Linked DNA regions of Homo sapiens: all the other regions are linked to region 6. The links are contacts of gene promoters, found by promoter capture Hi-C in blood cells and fetal thymus (Javierre and others, 2016). All regions are on one chromosome and are shown on one strand. Each heading gives the region's core, a stretch centred on a gene start or on the middle of the fragment in contact. The rest is flanking DNA. Distances are from core to core; before and after follow the strand shown.

Region 1 (3,471 bases), core at 424-2,923, 760 kb before region 6:
AGGTTGCAGTGAGCTGAGATGGCACCACTGCACTCCAGCCTGGGTGACAAAACAAGAACTTGTCTCAAAAAAAAAAAGTAGTAGATAAATTGTCTGTTTGCAGATGGCATAATATTATATATAGAAAACCCTAAAGACTCAACCAAAATAATACTGTTAGAACTAGTAAATTCAGTGAGGTTTCTAGATAAAAAATCAACATACAAAAATCAGTCTCATTTCTGTACACTAACAATAAACCATCTGAAAAAAAAAGAAAACAATGTCATTTACAATAGCATCAAAAGTATGTAAGAATAAATTAACCAAGGAGATGAAAGATTTGTACACTGAAAACAATTAAACATTGACAAAAGCCATGACAGAAGACACAAATCAAATGGTATTTCTAGTTCTAGATCCCTGAGGAATCACCACACTGACTTCTACAATGGTTGAACTAGTTTACAGTCCCACCAACAGTGTAAAAGTGTTCCTCTTTCTCCACATCCTCTCCAACACCTGCTGTTTCCTGACTTTTTAATGATCGCCATTCTAACTGGTGTGAGATGGTATCTCATTGTGGTTTTGATTTGCATTTCTCTGATGGCCAGTGATGATGAGCATTTTTTCATGTGTCTTTTGGCTGCATAAATGTCTTCTTTTGAGAAGTGTCTGTTCATATCCTTCACCCACTTGTTGATGGGATTGTTTGTTTTTTTCTTGTAAATTTGTTTGAGTTCATTGTAGATTCTGGATGTTAGCCCTTTGTCAGATGAGTAGATTGCAAAAATTTTCTCCCACTCTGTAGGTTGCCTGTTCACTCTGATGGTAGTTTCTTTTGCTGTGCAGAAGCTCTTTAGTTTAATTACATCCCATTTGTCAATTTTGGCTTTTGTTGCCATTGCTTTTGGTGTTTTAGACATGAAGTCCTTGCCCATGCCTATGTCCTGAATGGTATTGCCTAGGTTTTCTTCTAGAGTTCTTATGGTTTTAGGTCTAACATTTAAGTCTTTAATCCATCTTGAATTAGTTTTTGTATAAGGTGTAAGGAAGGGATCCAGTTTCAGCTTTCTACATATGGCTAGCCAGTTTTCCCAGCATCATTTATTAAATAGGGAATCCTTTTCCCATTGCTTGCTTTTGTCAGGTTTGTCAAAGATCAGATAGTTGTAGACATGCAGCATTATTTCTGAGGGCTCTGTTCTGTTCCATTAGTCTATATTCCAGCCATCCCATTACTGGGTATATACCCAAAGGATTATAAATCATGCTGCTATAAAGACACATGCACATGTATGTTTATAGCAGCACTATTCACAATAGCAAAGACTTGGAATCAACCTAAATGTCCAACAACGATAGACTGGATTAAGAAAATGTGGCACATATACACCATGGAATACTATGCAGCCATAAAAAAGGATGAGTTCTTGTCCTTTGTAGGGACATGGATGAAACTGGAAACGATCATTCTCAGCAAACTATTGCAAGGACAAAAAACCAAACACCGCATGTTCTCACTCATAGGTGGGAATTGAACAATGAGAACACATGGACACAGGAAGGGGAACATCACACACCGGGGACTGTTGTGGGGTGGGGGGAGGGGGGAGGGATAGCATTAGGAGATATACCTAATGCTAAATGATGAGCTAATGGCTGCAGCACAGCAACATGGCACATGCATACATATGTAACAAACCTGCACATTGTGCACATGTACCCTAGAACTTAAAGTATAATAATAAAATTTAAAAAATAAATAAATAAATAAAATAAAATCTAAAAAAAAAAGAAGACACAAATCAATGAAAAAATACTCCTTGTTCATGGATTGAAATAATTATTATTAAAATGTTCATGCTACTTAAAGCAATCTCTAGTTTCAATGCAATCCTCATCAAAATTCCAATAGCATTTTTCACAGAAATAGAAAAAAATTCTAAAATTTGCATGGTACCTCTAAAGACCCTGAATAACAAAAGAAATCTTGAGCAAGAAGATGAGAGCTGAAAGCACCATACTTCCTGATTTCAATTTATATTACAAAACTATAAAAATTAAAATAGTATGGTATTGGCATATAAACAGACACATAAACCAATGGAACAGAATCGAGAGCCCAGAAATAAGCCCATGGATATCTTGGCAAAGAGGCCATGAATACAAAGCAGGAAAAGGATAGTTCTTATTAAATGGTGGTGGGAAAACTGAATAGCCACATGCAAAAGAACAAAATTGGACCCTTATCTTACACCAGACTCAAAAATCATCTATGAATGGATTAAATACTTAAATGCAAGACATAAAACCATAAAACTCCTAAAAGAAGAAAGCACATAGAAAAAGAGCTCCTTGATATTGTTCTTGGCAATGATTTTTTGGATATGACACCAAAAGCACAGGTAACAAAAGCAAAAGTAAACAAGTAGGCCATACAACTCAAAAGTGGAAAAACAAATAACCTGATTTAAAAATGGGCAAAGGATATGAATAGACATTTTTCCAAAGAAAATGCCAACAGGTATATGAAAAGGTTCACATCACCACTCAACAGGGAAATGCAAATCAAAACCACAGGGAGATATCGCTTCACACCTGCTGGGATGGCTTTATCAGAAAAGCAAAAGACAAGTGTCGGTGGGATTGTAGAGAAATAAGAACCCTTGTACACGGTTTGTGGGAATGTAAAATGGTACAGACACCATGGAAAACAGTATAAAAGTATCCCAAAATGTGAAAAATAGAACTACCATATAACAATCTCACTTCTGTGTATACATCTAAAGGAAGTGAAACAAGTATGTTGAAGAGGTATTTGCACTCCCATGTTCATTACCGCATTATTTACAATATAATTGTTTGTGTATATATATATATACAGACACACACAATGGATTATTATTCAACCTTAAGAAAGAAGCTGGAGAAAGGGCTGGGTGTAGTGGCTCATGCCTGTCATTCTACTTGTGATTAGTTTGGAGGCCAAGGCAGGAGGATTGCTTGAGACAAGACTTGGCAACATAGCGCAACCCCTGTATCTACCAAAAATTAAAAAATTAGCCAGGCATGGTGGCACGTACCTGTAGTCCCAGCTATTTGGGAGGCGGAGGGGAGAGGATTGCTTGAGCCCAGGAGTTTGAGGCTGCAGTAAGTTATGATTATGCTGCTGCACTCCAGCTTGAGTGACAGAAAGACCGTGTTTCAAGAAAAAAGGAAACAGCCTGAAAGACATTATACTACATGAAATAAAACAGACACTGAAAGTCAAACTTTGCGTGATCTCACATATATTGAAATTTTAAAAGTTGAACTCATAGAAATGGAGTAGAATGGTGGTTGCTTGGGTTGCGGGTGGGGTAAAGGGGTCATGTTGGTCAAAGGGTGCAAACTGTCAGTTATAAGTTGAATAAGTTCTGGAGATCTAATATATAACATGGTGACTGTGATTCATATTAAGTTAAAATATAGTTAAAATTTTCTAAGGGA
Region 2 (3,271 bases), core at 641-3,140, 740 kb before region 6:
GTTTCCCTATACATTATATGTTGTTTTTCTATAGCTGTTTTTTAGATTTTCCTTTCATTTTTGTTTTTAACACTTTGTTTTATTTATTTGTTTTTCAAGTTTCCACCATTTCATGTTTTTAGCACTTTGAGTATAATGTTCTTAGGCATAGTTTTCTTTATAATTATTCTGCCAAGGGCTCACTAACCTCCTTTAGTTACCATATTTATGTCTATGGCCAAATTTGAAAAAAATGTACACCATCCATTCTTCAAAATTTTATCAAGGCATTATATATACAACAAAAATTAACTATTTTAAAAAATATACAATTATTTTAAAGCTTATTGTATAGTTTAAAATACACAATTGGTGGTATCTAATACATTCACAAGGTTGTGCAACTGTGGTCTCTAGCTCAAAAATGTTTTCATTACCCCAAAGAAGAGCCTGTACCCATTAAGTAACCACTCTCCACCCTTTCTCCATCCAACCCCTGACAACCACCAGTATGCTTTCTGTCTCTATGGGTTTATCTATTTCAGATATTTTATATAAATAAAATTGTATAATATATGACCTTTCATGCTTGTCTTCTTTTGCTTAGCATAATGTTTCCAAGGTTAGTCCATGTTGTATTTAATAGTATGTGTCAGTACTTAGTTCTTTTTGCCAAAAAATATTCCATTATATGTCTATATCACAGTTTGCTTGCTCATTCATCCACTGGTGGACATTTGACTTGTTTTCACCTTTTGGCTATTGTGACTAATGCTTCTGTGAGCATTCATATGCAAGCATTCATGTGCAAATATCTGTTTAAATACCTCTTTTTAATTCTTTTCCTCAGTGGCTGCACCATTTGATGTTCCCTCCAGCAATATATAAGGTCCCAATTTTTCCACATCCTCACCAACACATTTTTTTTTGTTTTCTTTTAAATAGCCATCTTAGTGAATGTGAAATTGTATCTTTTTGTAGTTTTAATTTGTATTTCTCTTATAACTAATGATACCAAGCATTATTTTTCATGTGCTTCTTGGCCATTTGAATACCTTTTTAGAGAAATATCTTTCAAGTATCTTGACCATTTTAAATTGAATTATGGTCTTTTTGTTGTTGAGTTGTAAGAATACCTTATATATTCTGGATATTAGACCTTTAATAGATATATTATTTGCAAATATTTCTCCCATTCTATTGGTTGCCTTTTCACTATCTTTATAAGGTCCTTTGATGCACAAGAGTTTTTAATTTTGATGAAGTCTTATTTTTTGTGTGTTTGTTCCTTGTGCTTTTGTGATCTCAATTTCTTCTGTTCCATTGTATATCTTTTATCCTCAGCAATTACAATTATATACACATTAGATTTTAGACATTGTCTTACAGTTTTATGAGGCTCTCTTATCTCCAGACTCTTTTCCTTTGCCATTTCCATTCAGTTTTTAAGTCCACCCAAAAAATATTTCTTTTACATCATCATACATAGCTGCTTTAAAACCCATATAATCTAATTACAGTTGGTCTTAGTAGATTGTTTATTCTCTTGAGAGTGGATCACATTTTCCTAGTTCTTCAAATGTCGAGTAACTTCTTATTATATCCCGAAAGGCGATATTATAGATTCTGTTATATTCTTCCAAAGAATGGGCTCTTTCTTTTAGTAGACAGTTAACTTGGTTGAATTCAAGTTACAAAAAAATCTTTTTGGGAACAGCTCAGATCTCAATTCAGTGCCCTTATCTCTAGCTGGACTGCTTTGATTCTGCCCACGTATGTGTGGTTCCTTGGTTATCTAGAAATTTGGGCAGAATTTATTTCCAAAATGTGGGGCTCACTCTCTTGTTCTTTTTTTTTTTTTTCTGAATCCTTACCTACCTCAGTTTTCAGCAAAGGTAATTTCCCTGAACTCTGTTCTCTGGTTCTTTAGTTCAGAAAGTCTGTCTCTTTTCTGTTGGAGTTTTAGGCTTTAGCCTACTTTCAGACTAATACCTGCAATAATGAAAAAATGCACCTCATTCTTTTTCCTTCTGGCAAGTTTTGGCACTTATTTACAGTCTGTCTTATTTTGTTCACTCCCTAGTTTCTACAAATATTTTTATGTTTTGTTCAGAGTTTAGAATTGCCATTCATAGGAATGTAGACCATGATGGGGCTTACTCTGCCATACCAGATACAGAATTGCCTCTAGTTCGTTGAAAATATTTCTATCACAACACTATATTTGATTATATAATAGCTATTTATGCTTTATTTTTCCTGTCCGACTACATTCTTGTTGTGCATAAAGAAGAGTCTTCTTTTAAAGTTGTGAAAATATATAGTCTTTTTTTTTTTTTTTCTGTTTAATGAATTCCTTTTGGAAACTCCTGCTACTGCTTCTGAGATAGTATCTCCATCACACAGACTCATATTTCCCTGTTTAAGGGATTTGGCCATTTGGAGACAGTTTATCACCTTATGTTATTAAAATTTGAATGGCCCACGTAAGCCAGAAACTGCCATGAGTCTCCTTCGCGACATGTAGAGAGAGGTTTCCTGAAATGAAAACCTGTAAGGAGTAAGATGACCTGAGAGAAACAGAATGGAAGAGAGGATCTTGGTGGCATAATTTAACTTTAGAATTCCCTTTTGCTTAAAGCCAATTTCACTCCTTTGCCCTCCAAGTTACAAAAGTCATAAATATCTATGAGAAAAGAGTTTGCATTCACTTTCTGACACTGACAACATATATAATACTAAATCCTCTATACCTGGAAAAGATAGATAGTGAATTCTTGGATAATAAGTGAATGACTGATGATAGGTACATATACAATATTACTGGAAAGGGGTAGCCTCTGAGTGAGCATGGCATAGGCATCCCTAATTATCAATGAGGTCACTTACAGGGAAATCAAACCACCTTAGTTCATCTTTCAATGTTGTTCAGGACTGACCTGACCTCTATCTGGAATCTGTGTATCCATTTTCACCTCTGCTAATATCTAGGCAAGCAATGAAATAGACATTTGATTTTTGTGGACAGCCTTCTTATACATTTCCTCATTTTCAATAATAAGAGCAAACTGGTGACATGCATGTTTGCTAATTTTTTTATTGCTTGTGCTAAGTGTTCCATTTTGAGAAGAAAGCAATTTGGCAGTGTTTAGTGACCCTCTTTCTTAGTGTCTTCACCTTGGCATGTTTTTCTGTCTCTGTCAGACCTGTGAGAAGATAGTTGTTGCTCAGTGATATGTTGTTCACAGAGGGGAAAGCCTCAGTCACAGGGTCTGTCTCCAGTAACATTTAC
Region 3 (3,484 bases), core at 288-2,787, 690 kb before region 6:
AAATTTCTTCTACCAGATACCCCAAATCATCTCTCTCAAGTTCAAGGTTCCATAAATCTCTAGGGCAGGGAAAAATGCTGCTAGTCTCTTTGCTAAAACATAACAAGAGCCATCTTTGCTCCAGTTCCCAACAAGTTCTTCATTTCCATCTGAGACCACTTCAGCCTGTATTTTTATTCTTCATATCGTTATCAGCATTTTGGTGAAAGCCATTCAACAAGTCCCTAGGGAGTTCCAAACATTCCCATATTTTCCTGTCTTCCTCTGAGGCTTCCAAACTGTTGCGATCTCTTCCTGTTACTCAATTCCAAAGTTGCTTCCACATTTTTGTGTATCTTTTCAGCTATGTCCCACTCTACTAGTATCAATTTACTGTATTTGTTTGTTTTCATGCTGCTAAAAAAGACATACCCAAGGCTGGGCAATTTACAAAAGAAAGAGATTTATTGGACTCACAGTCCATGTGGCTGGGGAGGCCTCACAATCATGATGGAAGGTGAAAGGCATGTCTCATATGGTGGCAGACAAAAGGAGAGCTTGTGCAGGGAAACTCCCATTTTTAAAACCATCAGATCTCATGAGACTTATTCACTATCACAAGAACTGTGCAGGAAAGACCTGTCCCCATAATGCAATCACCTCACACCAGATTCCTCCCACAGCATGTGGGAATTATGAGAGTTACAATTCAAGATGAGATTTGGGTTGGGACAGAGCCAAACCATATCAACATTCTTCACAAAATTGGAAAAAAACTACTTTAAAATTCATATAGAAGAAAAAAGGACTCTGTATAGCCAAGACAATCCTAAGCAAAAAGAACAAAGCTGGAGGCATCATGCTACCTGACTTCAAGCCATACTACAAGGCTACCATAACCAAAACAGCGTGGTACTGATACAAAAATAGACACATAGACCAATGGAACAGAATAGAGACCCCAGAAATAAGACCGCACATCTACAACCATCTGGTCTTCGACAAACCTGACAAAAACAAGCACGGGAAAGGATTCCCTATTTAATAAATAGTGCTTGGAAAACTGGCTAGCCATATGCAGAAAACTGAAACTGGACCACTTCCTTACACCTTATACAAAAATTAACTCAAGATGGATTAAAGACTTAAATGTAAAACACAAAACTATACAAACCCTGAAAGAAAATTTAGGCAATACCATTCAGCACATAGGCATGGGCAAAGATTTCATGATGAAAACATCAAAAGCAATTGCAACAAAAGCAAAAATTGACAAATGGGATCTAACTAAACTAAGGAGCTTCTGCACAGCAAAAGAAACTATCATCAAAGTAATCAGACAATCTATAGAATGGGTAAAAATTTTTGCAATCAATCCATCTGACAAAGGTCTAATATCCAGAATCTACAAGAAACTTAAACAAATTTACAAGAAAAAACAAACAACCCCATTAAAAAGTGGGCAAAGGATATGAAAAAACATTTTTAAAAGAAGACATTTATGTGGCCAAGAAACATATGAAAAACAGCTCAACACCACTAATCATTAGAGAAATGCAAATCAAAACCACAATGAGATACCATCTCACATCAGTCAGAATGGCGACTATAAAAAGTCAAGACACCCTCAACCTCTCCCTCTCCCTCTCCCTTCTTTGGTCTCCCTCTGTTGCCAAGGCTGGACTGTACTGCCGTGATCTCAGCTCGCTGCAACGTCCCTGCCTCGGGCTCCCGTGATTCTCCTGTCGAGTGCCTGGGATTGCAGGCAGGCGCCGCCATGCCTGACTGGTTTTTGTATTTTTGGTGGAGATGGGTTTTCGCCGTGTTGACTGGGCTGGTCTCCAGCTTCTGACCTCCAGTGATCTGCCCGCCTCGGCATCCCGAGGTGCTGGGATTGCAGACGGAGTCTCACTTACTCAATGCTCAATGTTGCCCAGGCTGGAGTGCAGTGGCGTGATCTCAGCTCGCTACAACCTCCACCTCCCAGCCGCCTGCCTTGGCCTCCCAAAGTGCTAAGATTACAGCCTCTGCCCGGCCGCCACCCCATCTAGGAAGTGAGCAGCATCTCTGCCTAGCCGCCCATCATCTGGGATGTGAGGAGCCCCTCTGCCCGGCCGCCCTGTCTGGGAAGTGAGGAGCACTTATGCCCGGCCACCACCCCTTCTAGGAAGTGAGGAGCATCTCTGCCCAGCCACCCATCATCTGGGATGTGAGGAGCACCTCTGCCTGGCTGCCCCCTCTGGGATGTGAGGAGTGCTTATGCCTGGCCACCCTGACTGGGAAGTGAGGAGCGCCTCTGCCCGGCCACCCCGTCTGGGAGGTGAGGAGCACCTCTGCCCGGCTGCCACCCCGTCTGGGAGGTGAGGAGCGTCTCTGCCTGGCCGCCACCCCATCTAGGAAGTGAGGAGCGCCTCTGCCCGGCCACCACCCCATCTGGGAAGTGAGGAGTGCCTCTGCCCAGCCACCACCCCATCTGGGATGTGAGGAGCGTCTCTGCCTGGCTGCCCCATTTAGGAAGTGAGGAGCGCCTCTGCCCAGCCGCCCCGTCTGGGAAGCGAGGAGCGCCTCTGCCCGGCCGCCCCGTCTGGGAGGCGAGGAGCGCCTCTGCCCGGCCGCCCCGTCTGGGAGGTGAGGAGCGCCTCTGCCCGGCCGCCACCCCGTCTGGGAGGTGAGGAGCACCTCTGCCCAGCCGCCCTTCGTCTGGGAAGTGAGGAGCGCCTCTGCCCGGCTGCCCCGTCTAGGAAGCAAGGAGCACCTCTGCCCGGCCGCCCCGTCTAGGAAGCGAGGAGCGCCTCTGCCCGGCCGCCCCGTCTGGGAGGTGAGGAGCGTCTCTGCCCAGCCACCCTGTCTGGGAGGTGAGGAGCGCCTCGGCCCGGCCGCCCCATCTGGGAAGTGAGGAGTGCCTCTGCCCGGCTGCCACCCTGTCTGGGAAGTGAGGAGCGCCTCTGCCTGGCTACTGTGCAATCTTCCAAGTGTGAAGTGACAGCCTTTCTGCAGGTGTACCCAACAGCTCCGAAGAGACAGTGACTATCGAGAACAGGCCATGATGACGATGGCCATTTTGTCAAAAAGAAAAGGGGGAAATGTGGGGAAAAGAAAGAGAGATCAGATTGTTACTGTGTCTGTGTAGAAAGAAGTAGACATAGGAGACTCCATTTTGTTCTGTACTAAGAAAAATTCTTCTGCCTTGGGATGCTGTTAATCTATAACCTTATCCCCAACCCCGTGCTCTCTGAAACATGTGCTATGTCAACTCAGGGTTAAATGCATTAAGGGCGGTGCAAGATGTGCTTTGTTAAACAGATGCTTGAAGGCAGCATGCTCATTAAGAGTCATCACCACTCCCTAATCTCAAGTACCCAGGGACACAAACACTGCGGAAGGCCGCAGGGTCCTCTGCCTAGGAAAACCAGAGACCTTTGTTCATGTGTTTATCTGGTGACCTTCTCTCCACTATTATCCTATGACCCTGCCACATCCCCCTCTCCAAGAAACACCCAAGAAT
Region 4 (3,174 bases), core at 198-2,697, 700 kb before region 6:
TCTGTTTAAAAGAAAAACAGAAAAGAGAAAAAGAGCTGATGTGGCTTCATCAAGACCTATATCCTGGACTTCATAAAAATAAAAAAAAAGCAAATGAAACAATTCCTGATTTGTGCCCTGAAGGGGTTTTGCAGTTTTCTTATTCTATCTTGCACAGAAGTTCTGAGCTCAGAAAAAAAATAAGGAAAATAAATCTAATGAATAAAATATTGAAGGGGTTGCAATTCTTGAGAACCAAAAACAAAAGAAAAATCACTTCCTCAGCTGGTTTGGGTTTGAGGGACTGGGATTCAACTTACAAACATCTTTGAGTGATGCAGCTCATGACCCTCTTTCTTTCTACTCTAATCCCATAGTTTGTACTTAGAGATCAGTCCATTTGCAGCCTAGTCTGGAAAATCAGTGTTGTCATAGAAAAGGTGAGGTAAGATGCAAGTTGGGACACTAAGACATCTTTTGTAGAGAGGTGAGAAAACATTTCAGTAGCATCAGTGTCACCATAATGTAGGAGGACACGAGCGGGGGCATCTCGGACACAGAAACTCCAAAAAGCCTCAAGACCTGAGGTGATTCAGGCAATTGCCAGTGTCTATCTGAACTGTGGCACACAGGGATGAAGATCCCAGTGGTGAATGATATCTGGAAGAGGCAAAGAGCAATAGACACTAGGTTTGTCCATGTGGATTTCTCACAATTGGGTAGAAATATAGGGGAGCAGAATTCAGCTTTGGAACAGAAACCTTGTAAGAGCCAGGCATTCACGGCAATACCCTAAGCTTGACTTGGTGTCTAATCAGGGACATTAAGCAGAAACTATGAAGGTCAAAATAAAAACAAAGAAGTTCTTACCCTTGGCTGGGACCCATATATAAGTGGAAGGAAAAAGGCTGTTGTTTAGGGCTCCACAGATGCTCATTCCTGGTACATGGGGTCCTGAGCCAGGTTGGCATTAAGGTAGCTCAGAGGGCATGTGGCATCCCATCAATCATAGCTCAGACACTGGACTTGGGGTCTGAGACATGAGACTTAGTTCCAAGGGCCACTGGATGGGGGTAGAGAGGGTGAGGCTTCCAGCATACTTCTTGCTCTCATCAGGAGTGTCTCAGGATCTGAGATGAGCATTGATTCACAAATGGGGCCTGGCTGCTCTTGTTTATGGAGGGCATAGTATATACCAGGCATTAGATGATATAAATCTGTTATCTCACTTGTTTCCAGGAAATGCAATTGGGAAGCTGAAGAAGATTATAGTATTTCTGGCAGTCAAGATTTGGAAAGTTACCTACTAAGAAGCTACAATATGCTCAAGATACTACTATATCAGAATAATTTTTACCTAATTAAGAGAATGAAAATTTTATTTACTCAACCAAATAGTGAGTTAATATATAGGAAATATATGTTCTGTATCAAACAGAATAGAAAACAATGGCATTGAGATGTATACCAGTGCTCTCATAATGACTGACCTGTCATGTGTAATTGTGTGTTATTTTCTATATACACTCCATCTGAATGAGCAATAAAACTAGCTTGAGGAAGAATAGTTTCTTCTCTGATCATTGTATTTCTTCAGGATTTCTCATTGCTCTCAGACATGCTACTTGTGATTTTCAGTTAAACTTGACACATTAGCTTTGCTAATATTTTAAACTTACTAAATTTGTTCATGTCCTCTTTCCTGTGTGTCTTCCCTCACTTTTACCTTGTGTATTAAGTACCACAAAAGAATATTGTCTGAAACAAATGGCATGCAATCCTTGGAGGATAGATTTCCATGCTACTATAGAGTGAACGTCTTCCATAGTGAAAGGCTTATATTTAATATGTGAATTGTGCCAGAGGTGGTTCAGCCAGGTAAAATGCTGGTATTACCTTGAAAACATGGGCGTATCCATCTTCCACTGAGCTGTGTGTTCTGGTTTGGGCTTTTGTTGATATGGTTTTGATGCCAAAGCAGGAAAAGCTGTTTCCTGATAAAAAGCAGAAACCAGACTCCTTGGTGCCATTGTTCATTACTGCCTGATCAGACAGGGAGAGTATGATATAATCTGACAGCTGAGAAAGTTGTGCGCTCCTCACCCACTAAGCACATGTATCTTTTTGAAGAACCCTGCTGAAAGCTTGCACTCTGAGCCCTGAAGCCAGATTTTGCTAAAGTTCTGTGATTCCACCATGGTTCCCTGATGAAGTAAAATATATTGTGTATAGACTGCAAGCTAGGATTGTACTGCTGAAATTTGAGATCTAAATATAAGTAATCTAAACTACAAGTAGTCTACATTACTGTGCCTGTAAAAGTTTACCTTGTGACACCTGGATTTAATATATCCTGACAATAGGTGCAGTTTGTTCAGAGAACGACCTTCAACTTTATATAGAAGATAAATGCCTGATTGTAGGTTATCTACATGCGTTTTGGATGGAGAGAGCAGAGGCAGGAATGCCAATGCAAATGTTAAACATACCCTTTCTATTGTTTTATTAGGACTATACATTATTAAATGGGACCTTCTTTACTCTTAATGTTTCTATTAGAGTAACATTCTTGGCTTCCTCTGCATCCTCACTAATTTTTCCTAATGGGAGGAGGATTAAAGTATCTGAATAGCAAATTTAGGAACAAAAACTGGTCATGTTTGACTGAGTCCCTTCCCTTTGCCTTTCTTCTTTGGATCTATGTGATTTTAGGAAAATATACTCTACTTTGTTCTTGGTCATACAAAGAGCTTCACAGTAGCAACCTTGTCCTTTTGTTGTGGAAAATCAGTGGTTGACCAGTGCTACTTGACATTGAGTGAATAAGTCTGTATTAATGTGGCTACATATTAGGAAGCCCATTGTTTTCTCACAGGGCCTAAGCCTCAATTTCCAGTAATTCCATCAATAATGAAGTAGGAATCTTTATGTTTGTCTGCTTAAATTTTTGTCTTTCTCAGTGAAATCAGAACTCAGGCAAGAAACACGATAATATACTCTATTAGGTTGCCTAAAACCCCAATATATTCCATCAGTAATTTTCATGTTGTACAGGTTTGTTAATTTATGTCCTTTAGTTAACCTCTAAACAGCACCATAAAGATGATTTTAAAGGGTGACAATTACATTTCTAATGATGTAGTCCTCTTATAATCTCTCCCCTCATAATATCCCCTTATTTTTATCTAGCCATAA
Region 5 (3,382 bases), core at 529-3,028, 720 kb before region 6:
ATGCCCCATGGGCACTTACTTGGTAGTGAAGGTAAAAAAATATATATAAAAACAAGAAATTGAGATTTCTGGTGTGTGTGCACGTGTGTGTGTGTGTGTGTGTGGGTGTGTGTGTGTGAGAGAGAGAGAGAGACAGAAAGTGAGAGAGAATCACAAAACAGAATACACAAAAATTTTCCACACACAAAAATAGCTAAATTAATTAGAGAAACTACACTTCACCACACTAAAGGAAGAGGGTAGTCTTGAACTAAGAGAGAGAGAAAGTGAGAGGGAATCACAAAACGGAATACACAAAAATTTTCCACACACAAAAATAGCTAAATTAATTAGAGAAGCTGCACTTCACCGTACTAAATGAAGAGGGTAGTCTTGAACTAGGGAGCTTGATAAGCCTGTCAAAACTTTCACTTTTGTGTGCATACAACTGCTATTGCTGGTCCAGAAAATTAGACATTCAAAATAAGTATGAAAAGTAGATAATATCCATACAAAGTTAGACAAAAAAGAAACAAATTAAGAATTAAAATGTACCAGCTGTTAAAAATACTCCCCAAAATGTCAACCATGAAGTAGAACAAAACTGCAACATAAGAGCTCCATCTGAATTAAATATCTGAAAACAAGAATTTGTATATGTAAAATAAGTATCTCAAATCAGAAAGGTAAAACTCATAGCAAATATGAACAAAAATTAGGAAGATGTAAAATGACTGAACACAGGAAAGAAATAGTAGAAAAAATCAAATTCATCCTAGAAGTGAAGACATTACAAATTGCCTGAATGAGAAAACATTGGATTGAAATTTAGTAGGGACAATTGAATAGTCAAGAAAATAAAAACAGGGCAGAGAATAAAAATAACAAAAAGGAAATAATTTAAAAGGATCAAGGGAAAGTATTTGGCATAGGCAAAGCAGATGCAATATACATATAATTGGAGTCTCTGGGGGACCAAAAACAAAAAAACAACACAATAGAACAACATTTTAGATCACAATCCAATTTTTTTTTCAGAAATAAAAGACCTATTTGCATAAATTAAAAGGACCTATGGTGTATAATATGTAGTGAAAATTGTCCTCATGGTCTGCAAAGCAAAACAACAAAAAAAGCCCCACATTATTTATAAAGGAAATCAAATTGGCATAAGATTTCCCTACTGCAACATGCAAAGACAGATAACAGTGGAGAAACCTTTTCAAAAAACTCAAAGAAAGTGCGAGCCAAGGATTTCATATCCAGCTAAGCTGTCCTTCAAGTGTCAAGGTTATATAAACACATTTTTAAGATATGCAAGAATCTAGGGATACTGTACATGTGCCCTTTACAAGAAAATCTACTAGAGGACAAATTTGTCCAAAGTAGAAATAACTGAGGAAGCTTTTTTTAAAGGCAGAGAAATGAAAAAGGAAGGTGAGAGTCAAAGTATGTAAGTTAAAGCTCAGAAACCAAATAGTCAAACACCAACTAAGTAAAAGGAGAATGAAGAACATTTTTCACCTGCTAGTGTATAGATAACTACTAGAACACAAATAAAAGTACTTCTAAGTACAAAAAGATGTAAGAAAAAGTAAAACAAAGAAAATAATAGACATTGACCGATAGATGCTGTGAAATACCACCCAAGTCCTCCTTCACTGATTGAGAGAAAAGTATAAAAGCCCAGCTCCCCTTTTTACTCTAACTCAGGATAACTCTGAGAGGCCATCTTAGCTTCAGAGATTTCTACGGGTTTCGCTGAGGCCTTTATTGTGTTTGCATCACTGCACAATTTCACTTTCTTCCTTATCCCACTTCCTTTACCTTCCTTCTACAGGTGTTCATCAAAGAGTATCTACTAATATACACCTAGCATGCTAATCTGCATCTCATAGTTTACTTCCTAGAGAATGTAACCAGTGATGGTTGACCAGAAGTGGTCTTGCAGATGCTAAAATTGAATTTTGGAGCTGGATCACTTACCAGCTAGCTGGCCGGCAATGAGAACCCCATTACTGATGGTTAATCAAGCATAAAGTAGCAGTGAAACACTTTCACTGGGGCAATCTGGGATGGTGTATTGTTTAATGGGAATGCACTAATTGCTGCAAGGTATCAGCCATTGGGAAAAAATTAAGGAAATAGAAGCTCTAAGGAGAGTGGAATTGGGTGACCTATTGCTAAACTATTGCTAAGCTTGATGGATGCCCTGGGGAAAGATAACATCATCATCAAATCATAATCAATAATCACCAAATAAAATCTAAATGTGAAAGGCAGAAAGCCTCCTTGGTAGCATAACAAAAACTTCCTAATCACTTGCAACAGAAAGGTAGTGAAACCTAAGGATTGGTTTTAAGATTTAATAATAAGAGTAACTGCGTTCCAAAGAAGGTTAATCTCTATCATGACACATGAGATGGCAAAATCTGAGTTGATGGACCTGAAAATCTTGAATGCCCTAATTCCATTGAATCCTTTGAGACTAAGAAAGTAGCCTACTCCTCCTACTAAGCATCAGTACATTCCCTCAACTCTTGGGTAAGGGAGTGAGAAAATCACATTAAACAGAATGCACACAACTCCTCCCCCACAAAAAGAGAACAATTGATTAGAGAAACCACTTCACCATTCCAACAGAGGAGGGCAGCCTCTTCCTGATATAGGTGTCTCTCCTTTAAACAATCAGCACCCACTCATGATCTTTCATTATCTCATTTCTTTGCTTTTAAGTCCAAACCTAGAGTTAAGTCATAGTCTAACCCAGCCAGGAGTGTGTTCAGCCTGGAAAAAGGTGGACGGTGACTGCACAGCTGCATGACCTAGTCAACATTTACCAGAAGGAGCTGGAAGAGCACACATGAGACTGATTACAAAAAATGTTCTGCCAAGGGCAAAAGAAAAAAACCTGGATAAGAGGAATTTATCAGTATGGGAGTATTTAACAGCCTGGCAAAAAGCCCTCGGAAGAGGGTGCAAACACACTGTAAGGATGGCCACTAGAAGTATGAAAAAAGCAATGGCCCCCATGTGGTGAGAAATAAATTCCAGAATTTTTGTGGCAGATAGTAGAAGAAACAATTAAAAGAATCAAAGAAGTGGACATGTTAGAGTGGATATACTACAGAGTGGATATACTACATAAAGTGAGAAAACTCACCAGATAGTGATATTCCATCACTGAGGCCAGAGGATCCACTATTTGTCAAAGGGCTAAGGAAGGAGCTGGTGAGAGGGACATCGGTGTCATTGCGATGTTCATTAATGCTTGTTAGTCTAGGGCTGACAACAGAAGATGCCATTCCCAAACTATAGCTCTCTAATAATAATGAGAATGATAAAACTTCAAAACAAAAGACTAAATAGCAATGTGTGAGCTTCGTCAGCAGCCTTAAGGATG
Region 6 (3,614 bases), core at 52-2,551:
CAAATTGTGCACATACTGAGGTGACAACTGGTCTCTGTCTAAAGTATCCAGACTCAGGACAAAGAGGCACGCCTGGCTGGGGTCCGAGGTGTAGAACCTGGAGCCCTCGATGGCCGCTAGAATGTTTTGGTAACTTTCGGCGATTTTCTCCCCTTTTTGCTGTGGGTATACGTAGACTTTGAAGCCGTTTTTCTTGCAAAGGGTGAAATCGAAGCAGGACTCCATGCGGCACTTCTTGCCTTTGTAGATGCTGGAGTTGGCATCTCGCTTCTGCCGGGGGGAAATGTGCACGCTGGAATCCTCGTTTTCCAATTGATCCCAAGGAACGAAGGGGCGCAGAGCGTCCGGGAAGCGGGGCCAGAAATGATCCGGACTGGGGTGGTGCAAGCCATTCCTACCGCTGTGTTCTTCTCTCCGGCTGTGGCTCCTCGATGCCCTAAACTGCAAGCCTCCGAAATAAAACAAAAGGGCGAGACAAGAGCCAGCTGAGAGCAGGATGAAATAGCGTTTTTTGGCCTGCATGTGTCCTGCCTGGGTCAAGAGGATTGTAAATAAACACAAGAATCACCCAAGTTTCCCAATCAACACTTTCAGCTCCAGTCCGCCATCTTCCCGCCTGTAAAGACTTCAAACTCTCCGCTCCCACCTTCTCTGGATGCCTTTCCCCAAGCCGTGGACTGATCCAGCGCATGTGGGCGATTTCTTTAACTTTCTCCCCTTCGGTCTTTCATCTTTGGGTTGCACAATGCACGGGAGAGAGCGGGGCTGAATATCTCGCACCCAGGGCGGGCGAGCAGCGGACTGTAATTTTCTTGCATGCAACAAGACGGAGGAAAAGAAAGAGAGAGGGGAGAAAAAAAAAGCTCCCGATACCCAATCAATGGCAAGACGAAGTGATTGCCTTGCCTCTCGGATTCCTCTCGGCAGCGTGGAAAATGAGCCCCGGGAAGGCAACTTCAACTCATCCACCACTCTCCGTGCAGAGCACTCCGGTTCCAACAAGTCAGCCGATCCCGGGTTCAGCCGGCTAGTGCATCTTGCAGCTGGGGCGCCGTAACCTCACAAATCCCTGCATCTCTCTTTATTCCCTTCTGCAGCGGCTCCAAGACTCCGGCGGTGTTTACTCCTGCGCTCGCGGGGCCGGCCCCCGGGACGCGCGGCGGCCCGGCTGGAGGCGGCGGCGGCGGCGGCGCTGGGTGGCGGCGGCGGCGCGTCCTCCCCGCGGGCAGTGCCGGCCCCGAGCAGCGCTTCGCAGGCCCCCGCGCGAACGCTGCCGACCGCCGCGTTCGGTCGCCGAATGTTACCCGGTTCTGAATGTTACACTTACACATTCCATTCCCGACACGACAGCGCTGACCTCATCCATCCACGCAGCCCGCGCTGCCATTGGCCGAGCGTCACGTCCGGGGGGGGCGGTGCTTCCGCTGCGCCCATTCATAACCCCCGGCCGCGGGCCGAGGCGCCGGCGCGGCGTTGGGGGCGTAGGGGGCGCAGGGAGCCGGGGCTCCCGGGTTGCAAGCTGCCGGCGGGCTGCCGGGCAGGTGGAGCGCGGGACGGCCCGGTGCGAGCCCCGCGGCCCCTCGGCGCGCCCAGGCCCGGATCTCGGCCTGCGCCGTGCCGGGGACCAGAGGCGCCTGCGGAAACGCGGCGGCCGGGGAAGGAGGCACCGGCAGGGGCCCCGTGCCGCGCGGCCCCGGGCGCCCTGGAGAATCTGGCCTCCTGGGCTGCCTGCCGGAACGCCTAGAGAAAGATGCTTTGAAGGAGGGAAGCAGGGAGGAAAGGAAGACTTCATAGAAAGCGACCGCCGATCCGAAAGCTGCCTCTCCCAGCCCTCCTTCCACTCTCCGAGACCCAGTATTTCAATTTTCTGCTAAGCATTAAAACAATCTCCCCTTACTCCTCCTCTACATAGCACATTTTTTTAAACCAAAGAAACACCCCAATGCCCAACAATAAAGAGGAATTATTACAATCAAGAGGAATTGTTGCAATTCTTCATGCCTGCCTCTGTGCTAAGAGTGTAAGACGGCTATCCTAAATCCTCATTATCTACTTAGGCCGCCTTGCCTGAGCCCCCTCTGTCTATTATGAAGAAAGCTTCCAAGAGATCCAATCACAGAGAAAAAATAAATTTTCTAATGGCTGCAGGGAAACCAGTTAATTTAAGCTTGCCCCAGTCCTCAAAGTGATGTTATTCTCTTGGTGGTGGTGGTGGTGGTGGTGGTGTTAAAGATATCTCTTAAGGACATATGACTGGTAGAATTGCCAACTGTCCCAGCTATAGAAGGAACACTTGCATCAGGAAAACTACCTTATGTACAATTAGTGCCAAATAGTTGGTCCTTCCCTCACTGACCTCCCACTCCTTGGCCCAAGCTCCTGCCACTCCCAGTGGAAGAACTTCATTAGATAACTCAGGTAACCGAGGAGCAGTCCCGCTAAAGATCCTCCAGGTCCACAAAGATGTGCTAGGCTCCCAAACAGTATCTCTGGTCAAAGTCAAACTCCCTGGCCTCAGATCCTGAACACTGCTTTACAGAAAACACCTCCCACCCTCTGGCCTAGCTAAAGTCTCAGGGCTCGGGCAAGCTAGACAGTTGCCTAGGGCAGCCGGCTGTTTAGTGATTGTTTATTATGGGAGTGACTGAGAGCTAGGAGCAGACACTTCCCGGCTTCCCTCAGGCTGCAAAAACCCCAGCGGGGTGTGGATGAAGGGCAGGGTTATAACAAGGCAGTATGAAATGATAGAGTGGAAAGTTTCAGACCTCTGTTGTTTCAGATTTGTTTTAATAAAGCAGGGAAGGGGCATGGGTGGGACATTACTATACATTCGTGAAGCCTCTCCCTATTTCTGACCTGCCAAAGATGAGACAGCTTTTCCAGATTTGACTTGAACCCCCTGCACAATGTAGAGAGGCCTGGGACAGGAATAAGGATTCAGTCATCTTCCAAATACAGTGACAATGATGCAGATAAAGGCAGTGATTGAAACCACATGTGACCCAAAGCTCCCCCCAGCCCAAGTTGCTAAGAACAACAGTTCAAGGCAGGAGGCCTTCTCTTCTGATCAGGGTGCAGATTATCTCAGCCCTGTGAAGTGGGGCTGTGGGACTGGAGGTGCTCTCTCTCTCTCTCTCTCTCTCTCTCTCTCTCTCTCTCTCTCTCTCTCTCTATATATATATATATATATATATATATATATATGCTGGAGTGCAGTGGCAGGATCTCGGCTCACTAGAAACTCTGCCTCCCAGATTCAAGTGATTTGCCTCCCTCAGCCTCCGGAGTAGCTGGGATTACAGGTGTGCACCACCAGCCCTGGCTAATTTTTGTTTATTTTTGGTAGAGATGGGGTTTTGCTGTATTGGCAAGGCTGGTCTCGAACTCCTGACCTCAAGTGATCTGCCCACCTTGGCCTCCCAAAGTGCTGGGATTACAGCATGAGCCACCTCGCCTGGCCCCTCTATATCTTGCCAGTTGTTTTGCATGACCTTAGGGGGAGCTAGCTACCCTCCTTGCTCTTTTGTGTTCTGTTTATGTTTTGGCATGTGCTTCCTGCTTTTCTTGCCTAATTATGGCTAATTTCCTTATCCCAGACCCCAGTGTTACCCATC
Region 7 (3,447 bases), core at 412-2,911, 800 kb before region 6:
CTAGATCCCATTAAATAGAAATTTCTGAGGCAAGTCATATAACATGCATGGCACAGAGAAAACTCCAAACCTGCAAATGAGTTTTTATCTTTATGTAAATTTCTATCCATCATTCAAGGCCCAGTGCAAATGTTCCCTCAGGAAGCTTTTCTTTTCCTGCCTACGTATCTACCTAAATTTAATCTTTTCCTCTGCATTCTCATCATATCTCCTCTTACTTACCTGTTACTTACTTGTTCTTGTTCTATCACCTCTGTTGTAGACCTTTTTATCTTTTTTGTAATTTTTCTGCTTATATAACTATTCAGGACTAGATTTTAAGCTACTCCAAGACATGTACACATTCCAATATTTTTTCATATCACCAAAGCCTAGAAGGCCCTCAAGTATTTAATTAAATTTATTATCAAATATTTATGAGTACTTGCTATGGATTAGGCACTGCTATGGATGCTAAAAATTCAAAAGTGAATAAAACTGCATCTATGTGGACAGACCTAGAGCAGTTACTGTCTGCTGCTAAGCTTTCCACTACAGATGCAAGTTTTTAAAAAAGTCCTTGTGCTTTCTATCTCATTGTGGCAGCCAATCTTGAATGGGGGAACACAGGAAAAAACACGGTCATACAGGGAAAAACATGGAAAGAAAAAAACATTTTTGCAATTCATAAGAATTTTCGTAAATCATAAAAAGCCTGTTTTACCAAAAACAGAATAAAAATTTTCAGTTTAAATAAAGTATGTAAAAAAAAATAAGCTCTGCCCTCTTGGAATTTTCATTCTAGTGTTGTAATAACAGATAACACCAAATTAAATGTCATGTCAGACAGTGGTCTAAGAGCATCAGGCATATGTTAATATGTTTAATCTTCACAACAACCATACAACATAGATACAACTATTGTTTTAGTTTAGATTCTCCAGAAGCAGTCCTGACATAAGAATTTATGTGCCAATAGTTTATTTGAGTAGCTATCCCAGGAAACACGATAGGCAGTGGGTGCGATAGGGGAGAAAAAAAGATAATAAAATACAGGTTGTCAAGTGAGTTATCATAATATGTAACTGGAGCTTAATCTCATTGAGAAACAATAAAATATAGGCAGAATAAACCTTAGCGTTATATCAAACTAGGGGTGAGGAAGATGAGATATTTGTCTACTATCTCTGTGCCTATTATTGGTTGAGTGCTCCTCCTGAGTCCTCTGGATGGGCTGACTGTACTTCTATGACAAGAGGAAAAAAAAGAAAGAAAATAAAAGCTCTTCAGCAGAGATTCGTAAGAGTTTTATCGTTAGCAGCCTTCAGGACATACAGGTAAATGCTAAGGGGATGTGGTGGGACAACAATTTTTGTTGAAATGATGTTATTCCATTTTACAAATGAACAAACTGAGGCACATGGCGGTTAAATGACTTCCTAGAAATATAGACCTAACAACTAATAGAGCAAGAGTTTAAATCCTTGAAGTCTTGCTCCAGAGTATGTGTTCTTAACCATTATACTATGCCCCATCACAATATGGAGAGGAAAGAAGAATGAAAGGAAGGAAAGAAGAATGAAAGGAAGGAAAGAAGAGAGGAAGGGAAGGGTTATAGTTCCTCATGAACATATTTTATTTCTACTACTAGGCTTATGCTTCTAGAGAGTAGAACTCAGATTTTATTCCTCTTTATTTCTCTCCTTCAGCCAACTCTTCAACCTACCCTGAACACTGCCAAAAAATGTCTTGCACAAAAGAGATAATTATAAGGCCCTCATCACTAGGATTTTTATTATTAAAAACTATATTTTTAATTCATTATACAGTGTAGACTAGCAGGCTTTGTAGTCAGAAAGACTTGTATGAATAATTTATTCTCAACATTTCACCTTCCACAGTTCATAATGGGTGCTTCATAAATGGTTTCCTATTTGTAATATTACATGACATTTTACAATTTACAAAAAAAGTTTATATTTCCTTATTCTATTTATCTCTCCATGAGTTACTTCATGTGCATATTCCTATTTGCACTCTCAATTGCCCTAAATTGTATGGAAGAGATAAACAAAGGTCATAGTCTGTAAAAATAAAAATAAAGATGTGTTTTATTAGATTATTTTTTAGCAAATATTTTCTCTCTGTCTCTCCCATGGGGTAGAGTATATTTTCCTGGTCCACTGACTTGAGAACATGTGATTTGTTTTGACCAAAGGAATATGAACAAAAGTGGTAATGCGCCAATTCCAAGAAGAGGTTTTAAAAATCACAGCTAGGCCGGGCGCGGTGGCTCACGTCTGTAATCCCAGCACTTTGAGAGGCTGAGGCGGGTGGATCACGAAGTCAGGAGATCCAGACCATCCTGGCTAACACAGTGAAACCCCGTCTCTACTAAAAAAATACAAAAAAATTAGCCGGGCGTGGTCGCGGGCACCTGTAGTCCCAGCTACTAGGGAGGCTGAGGCAGGAGAATGGCGTGAACCTGGGAGGCGGAGCTTGCAGTGAGCTGAGATCGTGCCATTGCACTCCAGCCTGGGCGACAGAGTGAGACTCCGCCTCAAAAAAAAAAAAAAAAAAAAATCACAGCTAGTTTTCTCTAGCCCTATTGTGTTTCTGCATTTTGCCATGGGATGAACATGACCATGATTCTGCATCTTGATCTTAGGTTCTGGAAGGAAAGGTACAAGGAGCTGACATGAACCTGATTTTTAACCTGAAGCAGACAGAGTTGGGACCAGCTGGCCTGCAGTCCTGTGAGCAAGAAATCGATGTGCATACTCATGAGTAAACCATAAACATTTGCTGTTATAACCCAGGAAGCTTTGGGAGTTGATTTTTATGTGGTGTTATGGCAACAATTGTTGATGAATGTGGGTATACAGTATTGGAAGTTCTCATGTGTCTTTGATGGCCAGCCTCTCAGTGCTTACAGAGCTCCTCAGCCTCACCAGATATTTCCCACTTGAATAATGAAGTTGTATGGTTGGGAATAGACATTTTGGCTATTTGGGTCAATAGGTTTAGGACCTTTGGAGGATTCAAGACTGGTAGAAAACCACAGCATGGTCTAAGATGCAGGTGTTCATGCCTGCAGGTAAGTAGATGCATCATTAACTTCAATAATAATAAATAAAATTTAAAGAGATTTTTCGATTATCATAAACTGAATGAACTAAAATTAACTTTCTAACAAATAGCCACAAATTTCTAGCGTGTTTATCTTTCCCATATGTTTCCCAGCTCTGCTAAGTTGGAAGCCTCAAAACCATCAACCAATAAATCATTCCTTGGGTTTCACTTTGGGGACCAATTAAAACTATCAACATGTTTTCTTCCATTACACTGGGAGTTTTATCTCCAGCTGTTGGGATCTGAGCTTCTAAAAGTATGAAGCATGACTACCCAGGGAAAAGGCACGTGAGACAATTGGAGGAAAATAGACTCTATTGAAAGCTAGTTTATGTA

The links. The method cuts DNA at HindIII sites, captures the fragments that hold promoters and counts their contacts. A CHiCAGO score of 5 or more calls a contact.
Region 1: a contact is called between a fragment that was not itself captured here and the fragment with the promoter of EXT1 in region 6, in 2 of 17 cell types (total B cells and naive CD8 T cells). The highest score is 7.9, in total B cells.
Region 2: a contact is called between a fragment that was not itself captured here and the fragment with the promoter of EXT1 in region 6, in 2 of 17 cell types (naive B cells and total B cells). The highest score is 5.3, in naive B cells.
Region 3: a contact is called between a fragment that was not itself captured here and the fragment with the promoter of EXT1 in region 6, in 6 of 17 cell types (naive B cells, naive CD4 T cells, total B cells and 3 more). The highest score is 7.0, in naive B cells.
Region 4: a contact is called between a fragment that was not itself captured here and the fragment with the promoter of EXT1 in region 6, in 4 of 17 cell types (total B cells, naive B cells, naive CD4 T cells and 1 more). The highest score is 10.2, in total B cells.
Region 5: a contact is called between a fragment that was not itself captured here and the fragment with the promoter of EXT1 in region 6, in 6 of 17 cell types (total B cells, naive B cells, naive CD4 T cells and 3 more). The highest score is 15.1, in total B cells.
Region 7: a contact is called between a fragment that was not itself captured here and the fragment with the promoter of EXT1 in region 6, in 1 of 17 cell types (naive B cells). The highest score is 6.3, in naive B cells.

The regions. Positions count from the first base shown.
Region 1 is chr8:117,349,161-117,352,631 of GRCh38, forward strand. The region is part of intron 4 of LOC105375716 (a long non-coding RNA gene); the gene reads right to left. Among named protein-coding and RNA genes, the nearest start is that of MED30, 170 kb to the right of the region's middle. The HindIII fragment of the contact is 4,045 bases long and covers 1-3,471 here.
Region 2 is chr8:117,369,440-117,372,710 of GRCh38, forward strand. All of the region lies in intron 4 of LOC105375716 (a long non-coding RNA gene), which reads right to left. Among named protein-coding and RNA genes, the nearest start is that of MED30, 150 kb to the right of the region's middle. The HindIII fragment of the contact is 3,140 bases long and covers 321-3,271 here.
Region 3 is chr8:117,424,567-117,428,050 of GRCh38, forward strand. All of the region lies in intron 4 of LOC105375716 (a long non-coding RNA gene), which reads right to left. Among named protein-coding and RNA genes, the nearest start is that of MED30, 94 kb to the right of the region's middle. The HindIII fragment of the contact is 6,383 bases long and covers 1-3,484 here.
Region 4 is chr8:117,407,289-117,410,462 of GRCh38, forward strand. All of the region lies in intron 4 of LOC105375716 (a long non-coding RNA gene), which reads right to left. Among named protein-coding and RNA genes, the nearest start is that of MED30, 110 kb to the right of the region's middle. The HindIII fragment of the contact is 1,347 bases long and covers 775-2,121 here.
Region 5 is chr8:117,389,339-117,392,720 of GRCh38, forward strand. The region is part of intron 4 of LOC105375716 (a long non-coding RNA gene); the gene reads right to left. Among named protein-coding and RNA genes, the nearest start is that of MED30, 130 kb to the right of the region's middle. The HindIII fragment of the contact is 795 bases long and covers 1,382-2,176 here.
Region 6 is chr8:118,110,525-118,114,138 of GRCh38, forward strand. It overlaps EXT1 (exostosin glycosyltransferase 1), which reads right to left and starts at 1,302. Exons shown (of 11, transcript NM_000127.3): 1 at 1-1,302. The coding sequence starts at 522. RefSeq lists silencers at 1,155-1,244, 1,345-1,724. The HindIII fragment of the contact is 5,337 bases long and covers 1-2,095 here.
Region 7 is chr8:117,313,051-117,316,497 of GRCh38, forward strand. The region is part of intron 4 of LOC105375716 (a long non-coding RNA gene); the gene reads right to left. Among named protein-coding and RNA genes, the nearest start is that of SLC30A8, 180 kb to the left of the region's middle. The HindIII fragment of the contact is 2,278 bases long and covers 523-2,800 here.